Linked DNA regions of Homo sapiens: region 2 is linked to region 1. The links are contacts of gene promoters, found by promoter capture Hi-C in human tissues and cell types (Jung and others, 2019). All regions are on one chromosome and are shown on one strand. The core of a region is centred on a gene start or on the middle of the fragment in contact, and the rest is flanking DNA. Distances in the headings are between cores, read along the strand shown. Region 1 holds the start of SPINT1 (serine peptidase inhibitor, Kunitz type 1). Region 2 holds the start of NDUFAF1 (NADH:ubiquinone oxidoreductase complex assembly factor 1).

The links. The method cuts DNA at HindIII sites, captures the fragments that hold promoters and counts their contacts. A contact is called where the count stands out against the background at its distance.
Region 2: a contact is called between the fragment with the promoter of NDUFAF1 here and the fragment with the promoter of SPINT1 in region 1, in 1 of the 25 tissues and cell types used here (lymphoblastoid cells).

What each region holds. Positions count from the first base shown.
Region 1 is chr15:40,840,304-40,845,550 of GRCh38, forward strand. SPINT1 (serine peptidase inhibitor, Kunitz type 1) reads left to right here and starts at 3,745. Exons shown (of 11, transcript NM_003710.4): 1 at 3,745-3,883; 2 at 4,187-4,726. The coding sequence starts at 4,252. It overlaps SPINT1-AS1 (SPINT1 antisense RNA 1), which reads right to left and starts at 4,221. Exons shown (of 2, transcript NR_146468.1): 1 at 3,876-4,221. RefSeq lists silencers at 3,183-3,365, 3,527-3,756, 3,837-3,896, 4,187-4,426 and an enhancer at 3,318-3,889. The HindIII fragment of the contact is 27,771 bases long and covers 1-5,247 here.
Region 2 is chr15:41,400,151-41,405,117 of GRCh38, forward strand. NDUFAF1 (NADH:ubiquinone oxidoreductase complex assembly factor 1) reads right to left here and starts at 2,346. Exons shown (of 5, transcript NM_016013.4): 1 at 1,994-2,346. The HindIII fragment of the contact is 27,298 bases long and covers 1-4,967 here.

The DNA of each region.
Region 1 (5,247 bases), core at 2,495-4,994:
TCCATCAGGAAGCTGGCACAGAGCCTAGATTAAGGGCAGCAGTGGGAACAGACAAGAGATGGATGTGAGTGATTACCAAGGAAGACTGTCATCAAATATGGTATGTGGAGGTCATCACGGTGTGTCTCTCTCTTCATTATGGAAGCATCCCATGTTCACTGAAGGGATCTTGGAAAATATTTTTAAAACTAGAAAGAAGAAATGTTATCCTACAGTCTCACCATTCAAATACCATCACTTTCCCTACTTTGATGGCATACCTTATAGTCTTTCTTCTCTTCACATGTAGTTTTTCTTATTAGTATGTAAGAAGCAGCATAAGGTAGTATGGAAAGTATGGCTTTTAATGTCAAAAAGACTTCAGATACAATCCTGGCTCTGTCACTTTTTTAAAAGAATCATTTCGACTTTTATTTTGTTTACTTATTTTTGAGACAGGGTCTAGTTCTTTCACCCATGCTGGAGTGCAGTGGCATGATCATAGCTCACTGCCACCTTGACCTCCCTGGCTCAAGCAATCCCCCCACCTCAACCTCCTGAGTAGCTGGTACTACAGGCATGCGCCACTATGCCTGGCTAATTTTTTGTATTTTTTTTTATAGAGACGGGGTCTTGCCATGTTGCCCAGGCTGGTCTTGAACTCCTGGGCTCAAGCAATCCTCCTGCCTCAGCCTCCCATAGTGCTTGGATTACAGACATGAGCCATTGCACCTGGCCTCAACTTTTATTTTAGATTCAGTGGGTACACATGCAGGTTTGTTACATGGGTATAGGGTTTGGGGTACAGATGAGCCTGTCACCCAGGTAGTGAGCATATTACCTAAAAGGTTGTTTTTCAGCCCACGCTCCCCACGCTCCCCTCCCTCCTTCTCTCTTCTGGTAGTCCTCAGTGTCTATTGTTCCATCATTATGTCCATGTGTACTCAATGCTTAGCTCCCATTTATAAGTGAGAATATGTGGTATTTGGTTTTCTGTTCCTGCCTTAATTTGCTTAGGATAATGGCCTCCAGCTGCATTCGTATTGCTGGAAAGGACATGATTTTGTTAATTTTATGGCTGCATAGTATTCCATGGTACGTATGAAGTACATTATCTTTATGCAATCCATCATTGATGGGCATCTAGGTTGATTCCATGTCTTTGCTATTGTGAATAGTGCTGTGATGAACGTACAAGTGCATGTGTCTTTTTGGAAAAACAATATATTTTCCTTTGGGTATATACCCAGTAATAGGATTGCTGAGTTGAATGGTAGTTCTAAGTTTTTGAGAAATCTCCAAGCTGCTTTCCACAGTGGCTGAACTGATTTACATTCCCACCAACAATGTATAAGCGTTCCCTTTTCTCTGCATCCTCACCACCATGTGTTTTTGTTGTTGTTGTTGTTGTCGTTTCAAGTAACATTTATTGAGAACTCTTTGTGTCAAATGCTTTGTCTGCATTAACTCAATTAATCCTCATAAAAAACCTTATGAAGCCCCACTTCCCATTCAAGGAGACTAAGGCAGAGAGATCAAATAACTTGCACAAGGCCACACGAATAGTAAGTGGCAGATGCAAGAGCTAAATCCAGTAGTCTGAGTCTGAAGCTCACAAGTTCAACTTCTCTACAACCTGTCACCACTCTTCGTTCACTACCTGACCTTGATGGAGTCAGTGAACCTTTCTGCAAAGTGGAAGCAATTTTTAGAGTTGTCCTGAGCATTAGCAATCCTATGTCAAGTGCCTGGAGGGAACACAGTGGGCATCTCAACAAATGGTGGGTGCTCACCACTTGAAAGTGAGTTATGGGTTTAAGCAAGTTGAATCTGAGGTGAGGGCAGAACTTCCAGATGAAGTCAGAATTGCAAAGGCCATAAAGCCCAGGGTTTAAGCACTGAAGCCATGGAATTGGCCTGCCTGGGCTCCAATCCCTACTCTGCCGCTTCAATGCTGAATGACCTGACAAGTCAGTTTACCTGTCTGAGCCTGTTTGCTCATTTGTAAAATGGGGCTAAAAATACTACCTCCCTAGGTTTGTTTTGAGTATAGGGTAATATGTGGGCAGTGCTTAGGAACAGAGTTTGGGCATTGTCAGTGCTGAATTCATGTTGGTTTTTATAATGGTGTGTATAATGGATGTAATGATAAATTTATGGTGATGTAATATTACCATAAGGTAATATTTTCCTGTATTAAGATTCTTGAGGTCAGGCACAGTGGCTCACGCCTATAATCCTAGCACTTTGGGAGGCCGAGGTGGGTGGATCACCTGAGGTCAGGAGTTCAAGACCAGCCTGGCCAAAAAGGTGAAACCTCGTTTCTACTAAAAATACAAAAATTAGCTCGGCGTGGTGGTGCCCACCTGTAAGCCCAGCTACTTGGGAGGCTGAGGCAGAATTTCCTGAATCTGGAAGGCAGAGGTTGCAGTGAGCCGAGATCGTGCCATTGCACTCCAGCCTGGGTGACAGAGCAAGACTCCGTCTCAAAAAAAAAAAAAAAAAAATAAATAAATAAATAAATAAAGATTCTTGAATGTGTTAGCCATAAGGGGAAATCAAATCACAACAAAACCCTTTCTTCCCAGTGACTGCACAATCATTTTCTTCATTCCCAGCATACCACCATTGTTGTATATCCACCAGTGTGCCAGGGTCTGTGGATAAACCCTAAACATCCAGAGAAGGGGAGACAGGCCCCAGATTCCCACCCCAACACGCATCATGTGAGCAGCTGGAGGATGTTGCAGTTCAGCAAAATCCAAGGGTTGGCCACAGGATCTGCTAGGCAAAGCTGCTCTGGATGAGAAACTGGGAAGAATGTTCCCATTGGTTTGGGGGTTGTTAAGCCATCAGGAAAAGGTTTGGAATCTGTATTTTAAGAGAGCATGCTATGTGATTCCTTCCTCCAGCCCTGCCTTCATCTGTCTTTCACCTGTTCAGACCCTTGCCGTAGAGAATGGTCTCTTAAGAGTTTTTTACTCAGGAGGAGCAATGAGCTTGGCTTCAAGGAGTCCACTGTTTCGTGAAGGGCATTAACTCAGCTACTTGGTGAACTGGAACCTCCAGGCTTCCAAGGATGACATTTCCCTGGAAGAAAGTAGCCAGCAGCGTCCCCTTTGTGAAAGAGAGGAAGCCTGGGCTCCAGGGAAGGGGGCAACAGTCCAATGAGCCATAGCAGGGAATGGACCGAACTGTACATACAAGATGAGGAGGGGCCTCGAACAACAGGGAAGCCCCGTGGAGCACGCAGGGGAGCCTGGACGCGGGGAATCGCCTCCGTTTCTCACCCTGACAGCAGGGAGGGCTTCCCGGAGCTGACAGTGAGGCAGACATCCCGGATCCCTGTTATCACAGGTGCAGCCACGCAACTTTTGGGTTACCTTCCCGCCACGAAATGGAAATGATTTCCTGAGGGCCGGAAAGATCATTTGCATCGGGCCTCAGGTCTGGGGCTGGGAAAGCAGGCCCCGGCCGGAAAGGAAGACTGGAGGCCGCCGCCCCAGAGGCCGGACCCTCGCGTCCCGGCCGCATCCCCTCCCGGCTGGGTATGCGCTTCGGGCGCGGGGCTCCCTCGCGAGGCTGGACTGGGTGGAGCCCGAGAGCCCCTCCGGGGAGCTGGCTGCCGGGGAGGCACCGGGGCTGCGGGGCCGCGGGGCGGGCCGGGCCTGGAGCTCCGCGCTAGAGGCGGCCGCAGCGCACCGGGCGTGGGCGGGGCCGGCAGCGCAAGGGTGAATGTCGGCCCCGCCCCGACGGCGCTGACTCAGTTTCACCAGAAACCAGGGGGAGAAGGCGGCCGAGCCCCAGCTCTCCGAGCACCGGGTCGGAAGCCGCGACCCGAGCCGCGCAGGAAGCTGGGACCGGAACCTCGGCGGACCCGGCCCCACCCAACTCACCTGCGCAGGTAACCCGGGCCCCCGCGCGCAAGGCCGAGGCGCAGGCGGAGCGGGCTGGAGCATGTCCGGCCCTTTGTTCTGCGCTCGTGCGTGTGTCCGGGTACTTGAGCTCCCTAGCGGTCCGCCTGTCCGTCTGTCTGGCTGCCGGGTCCCTGGAGGGCGCGTGGGAGGGCCGGGCCCGTGCGCCCTCTTCGATCCTGGGGTGCTCCGGTCCCTCCTCCCCGCCACTTCCTCCCGGCCGGCCCGCCTCCTCCAAAGTCTCCCGGGCTGATCAGGTGTGTCTCCTCCTCTGTCCCCTCCCTTCTTCTCAGGTCACCAGCACCCTCGGAACCCAGAGGCCCGCGCTCTGAAGGTGACCCCCCTGGGGAGGAAGGCGATGGCCCCTGCGAGGACGATGGCCCGCGCCCGCCTCGCCCCGGCCGGCATCCCTGCCGTCGCCTTGTGGCTTCTGTGCACGCTCGGCCTCCAGGGCACCCAGGCCGGGCCACCGCCCGCGCCCCCTGGGCTGCCCGCGGGAGCCGACTGCCTGAACAGCTTTACCGCCGGGGTGCCTGGCTTCGTGCTGGACACCAACGCCTCGGTCAGCAACGGAGCTACCTTCCTGGAGTCCCCCACCGTGCGCCGGGGCTGGGACTGCGTGCGCGCCTGCTGCACCACCCAGAACTGCAACTTGGCGCTAGTGGAGCTGCAGCCCGACCGCGGGGAGGACGCCATCGCCGCCTGCTTCCTCATCAACTGCCTCTACGAGCAGAACTTCGTGTGCAAGTTCGCGCCCAGGGAGGGCTTCATCAACTACCTCACGAGGGAAGTGTACCGCTCCTACCGCCAGCTGCGGACCCAGGGCTTTGGAGGTGAGGAGGGTGCCAAGATGGATGGGTTTGGAGAGACTCAAAAAAGGGACTGGTTATGGGGTCCTAGGGGAGACGAACATCAGAGAGGAGTTAAGGAGAGTTCACTTTTTTTTTTCTTTTTCTTTCTTTTTTTTTGCGACGGAGTCTCGCTCTTGTCGCCCAGGCTGGAGTGCAATGGCGCAATCTCTGGTTGCTCACTGCAACCTCCGTCTTCCACGTTCAAGTGATTCTTCTGTCTCAGCCTCCGGAGTAGCTGGAACTACAGGCACCCGCTACCAGACCCGGCTAATTTTTTTTTTTTTTTTTTTTTTTTTTTTTTTGGTACAGACGGGGTTTCACTATGTTGGCCAGGCTGGTCTTGAACTTCTGAACTCAGGTGATCCACCCACCTTGGCCTCCCAAAGTGCTGGGATTATTTCTACCTGAAGCCCTCCTTAGAAGTAGGCAGTACAGCCGAATCAAGCCTGGTGATCAATGGGGTGACAGATGTCACAGCCAGATCGCCTTCACATCGGTAGTAG
Region 2 (4,967 bases), core at 1,096-3,595, 560 kb after region 1:
ATGACAAGGTCAGGAGTTTGAGGCCAGCCTGACCAACATGAAGAAACCCCATCTCTACTAAAAATACAAAATTAGCCCGGTGTGGTGGCGCACAACTGTAGTCCCAGCTACTTGGGAGGCTAAGGCAGGAGAATAGCTTGAACAGGAGGTGGAGGTTGTGGTGAGCCAAGATCACGCCATTGCACTCCAGCCTGGGCAACAAGAGCAAAATTCCATCTCAAAAAAAAAAAAAAAAAAATAGAGATGAGGTCTTGTTATGTTGCTCAGACGAGTCTCTAACTCCTGGGTTCAAGTGATCCTCCTGCCTCAGCCTCTGGAGTACCTGGGATTACAGGCGTGAGCCACTGCACCTGATGAATACCACTCCTAATACTTTTTTTTTTCTTTTTTGAGACAGAGTCTCACTCTGTCACCCAGGCTGGAGTGCAGTGGCACGATCTCGGCTCACTGCAAGCTCCGCCTCCCGGGTTCACGCCATTCTCCTGCCTCAGCCTCGCGAGTAGCTGGGACTACAGGCGCCCGCCACCATGCCCAGCTATTTTTTTTTTTTTTTTTTTTTTGGATTTTTAATAGAGACAGGGTTTCACCGTGTTAGCCAGGATGGTCTCGATCTCCTGACCACGTGATCCACCTGCCTTGTTCTCCCAAAGTACTGTGATTACAGGTGTGAGCCACCATGCCCAGCCTACTCCTAACACTTTCATATCACCCTGATATATATTATCTCATGCCATCCACACACAAATCCTATGAAACAAGTCAGATACGTATTTCCTTTCTGTAGGATACAGACACCAATAGGTAAAATGACATTATCAATACTTTTTTTTTTTTTTGAGACGGAGTCTTGCTCTGTCACCAGGCTAGAGATCTCCGCTCACTGCAATCTCCGCCTCCTGGGTTCAAGCGATTCTCTTGTCTCAGCCTCCTGAATAGCTGGGATTACAGGCGGGCGCCACCATGCCCGGCTAATTTTTGTTTTTGTTTTTGTTTTTTCAGTAGAGATGAGGTTCCACTATGTTGGCCAGAGTGGTCTCGAACTCCTGACCTCAGGTGATCCGCCTACATGGGCCTCCTAAAGTACTGGGATTACAGGCGTCAGCCACGGCGCCCAACCTTTTTTTTTTTTTTTTTTTTTGAGATGGAGTCTCGCTCTGTCACCCAGGCTGGAGTGCAATGGCACGACCCTGGCTCACTGCAACCTCCGCCTCCCGGGTTCAAGTGCTTCTCCTGCCTCTGCCTCCCGAGTGGCTGAAATTACAGGTGCCCGCCACCATGCCCAACTTTTTTTTTTTTTTTTTTAAGACAGAGTCCAGCTCTGTCCCCCAAGTTGGAGTGCAGTTGTGCGATCTCGGCTCATTGTAACCTCCACCTCCTGGTTTCAAGCAATTCTCTTGCCTCAGTCACTGGGATTACAGGCGTGCGCCACCACGCCCAGCTAATTTTTGTATTTTTAGTAGAGACAGGGTTTCACCATGTTGGCCAGGCTGGTCTCGAACTCCTGACCTCAAGTGATCCGCCCGCCTCGGCCTCCCAAAGTGCTGGGATTACAGGCGTGAGCCACCGCGCCCAGCCGACATTATCAATAAGGTTTGTTGATAAATCAAAACCATGTAAACAGTATGTTTTCACATGTATTATAAACGTTAAGGGAACCAGGAAAAATTAACAGTTGATCTGAGGTCCCGGAATTATGGATAATATTTAAATTCCCCCGCGCCGGTTGCACTTAAATGATTTTACCTCTACACATACCGAAATTTGAGAAACAAATGATAGCTCATAAAATGTTTTCCAAACCCTCCGTAGTGTTACTTCTCTAATAATATAACTTTAATTATAAATGCTTTGTTTCATTTTTTTTTTTCTACCAGTAAACAGAAAATCTAAACTATTAACTGGACAATACCGCCCTGAGGTTGACGGTGGGTTTTGACAACACAATCCACGCAGCTAGAAGTGAGTAGAATTAGTAAAGCTATCCATGCCTTACCATGTGCCAGAAACTGCTCTAAGTGTTTCACTGACGGCTCACAACAATCCTGAGAGAGGTACTATTATTATTTCAATTATAGAGACGAAGAAACTGACGTTCCAAGGCTAATTTACCCGAGGTCACACAGGTAGTGAGTGGCAAAATTCTTCCGCCTTGGCGTATACCTCCCGCACTCACGGCCTGGCCTCCGGAGGCTAGACGGTTCGCCGCGCTGGGGAGGCCCCCTCAACCCTCAAGTGCCAGGGCTCTGTCGCCTCCCCACACCCGGGACACACCAACCGCCGGCCTGCCGCCGCTTACCTCCCCGAGCCTATAGTGTACCTTCCGCCCAGAAGCCACTTTACCCGTATAGGTCCATCTGCTTTTCCCTTCCGATGCCAAACAAGGCGTCAGAACACCAAAGTTCCGGCCGAGTACAGAAGCCCAGGAAGGACAGCAAGGACCCCGTAGCCCAGCCAACTGAGGTTTTTGGAGGTTTTTGGTCCACTTGGTCGCCAGTTGTAAGGAAGCAGTGAGAATTCAGATAAGTTTTTCGCCTCTCCTTCCTGTATCCTTTCAGGCGGCAAACTCCATCCCTGCGTCTTTTTTTTTTTTTTTTTTTTTGAGACGGATTCTCGCTCTGTCGCCCAGGCTGGAGTGCAGTGGCGCGATCTCGGCTCACTACAACCTCTGCCTCCCAGATTCAAGCGATTCTCCTGCCTCAGCCTCCCGAGTAGCTGGGATTACAGGTGCGCGCCATCATGCCCGACTAATTTTTGTATTTTTAGTAGAGACGGGGTTTCACCATGTTAGCCGGGATGATCTCGATCTCCTGACCTCGTGATCCACCCGCCTCGGCCTCCCAAAGTGCTGAGATTACAGGCGCGAGCCACCAAGCCCGGCCCCCTGCGTCTTTCAAATAGAACCCAGTTATTGCTAACGCGCCTGTATCCCTTCCTTCCTTATCTGTCGCCTCGGTCCCCACAAGAACTGCCTGAGGCCTCAAAAGGCCGATTCTGCTGGAATTGCCCCCATGAATTCTTGAGGACCACCACGCACCTGGACAGCAGCCCCTCCTACCAGCCCTTCCCGAGTCTCGCCCCACACGGTCGCCAGTTGCTCAGGGCATCTGTTTGTACCTTGTGCACACCTCTCTTAAAGCACTTTTTTTTTTTGAGACGGAGTCTCACTCTGTTGCCCAGGCTGTAGTGCAGTGGCGCGATCTGCAACCTCCGACTCCTGGGTTGGAGCAATTCTCCTGCCTCAGCCTCCCAAGTAGCTGGGATTACAGGTGTGTGCCACCACACCCGGATAATTTTTGTATTTTTAGTAGAGATGGGGTTTCGCCATGTTGGCCAGGCTGGTCTCGAAATCCTGACCTCATGATCCACCCACCTCGGCCTCCCAAAGTGCTGGTATTACAGGCGTGAGCCACCATGCCCGGCCAAAGCACTTAAACATTGTTTGTTTTTGTTTTTTTTTCTTACTGCCAGGGAAGACAGAATCAACATTGTATCTTTCACTCACTTCTCACTTCCTTTGCCACGCTGTGAGCTTTCTTGGGTCCAGACTGCGCTGTTTTTCCTTTCCCCAGAATGTACCATAGCGGCGGGAATTTAGTGCTTAGTGTGAATTTGAGAGCATATAGTTCCGTAACACCTTTGTTCTCTAAGGTTCCGAAGGAGCTCACTAAATACACTAGCCCTTTCCATGTTTTCTCCTTCACTAGTTTCCGCGCCGCCTCCTCTTCCTCAAATTCGGCTTGGCTTCTCTAGACTCTACACTTGCCCCCTCAAACCTTACCTTTCTGCCCCCATCACTGACTCTTCTATTCTCTTCCCACAACCTTTAATGCGGGCTGTCTCTCCATGGCCCATCCTGCCTCTACCTCTTTTCTAGTTTCAAATATAAGTTATCGGCCGGGCGCGGTGGTTCACGCCTGTAATCCCAGCACTTTGGGAGGCCGAGGCGGGCGGATCACAAGGTCAGGAGATCGAGACCATCCTGGCTAACACGGTGAAACCCCGTCTCTACTAAAAATACAAAAAAATTGGCCGGGCGTGCTGGCGGGCGCCTGTAGTCCCAGCTACTCAGGAGACTGAGGCAGGAGAATGGCGTGAACCCGGGAGACGGAGCTTGCAGTGAGCCGAGATCGCACCACTGCACTCCAGCCTGGGCCACAGAGCCAGACTCCGTCTCAGAAAAAGAAAAAATCGAAATGTCTTTTTGTTGTTGTTTTTTAGGAAATATCCTTGAGCAATAAAGAAAACTAAATGTCTAAAACTAAATGTGTCATTTTTCCTCCTACTAATTCCTCCTGTCTCCCTATTTCTGTAAATGGCCACATCCTTCTAGGATGGAAATGCTTGACTGTCCTTGGCTCCTCTCCTTAAAATCTTCTCTTACTGATTTTAAATCCTGTTGCATTCTCTTGCTGTTTTTGATCTTTGATCTTTTCACACCTTCTTTCCAAGCCCACTGACACGTTTCTTGTTTTTTTGGTTTTTAAAATATAGTAGCCATCCTAATGAGTGTGAAGTGGTATCTCATTTTGGTTTTGATTTGCATGTCTCTAATCATTAGTTGTTTGCTGCTTTTTTTTTTTTGAACCACAGTCTTCCTCACCCAGGCTGGAGTGCAGTGGCGTGATCTCGGCTCACTGCAACCCCCGCCTCCCGGGTTCAAGTGATTCTCCTGCCTCAGCCTCCTGAGTAGCTGGGATTAGAGGTGCATGCCACCACACCCAGCTGATTATTGTATTTTTAGCAGAGTCAGGGTTTCGTCATGTTGGCCAGGCTGGTCTCCAACTCCTGACCTCAGTTGATCCACCCACCTCGGCCATCCAAGGTGCTGGGATTACAGGCGTGAGCCACTGTGCCAGGCTGTTTGCTTAAGTATAGGAAGCCCCATATGTATTTATTACCAGTGGAGAAAGGAAGGCTGGAAGAAAGAAAAAAATATTCAAATAGAAAGGAAGGACATGACAATGCCA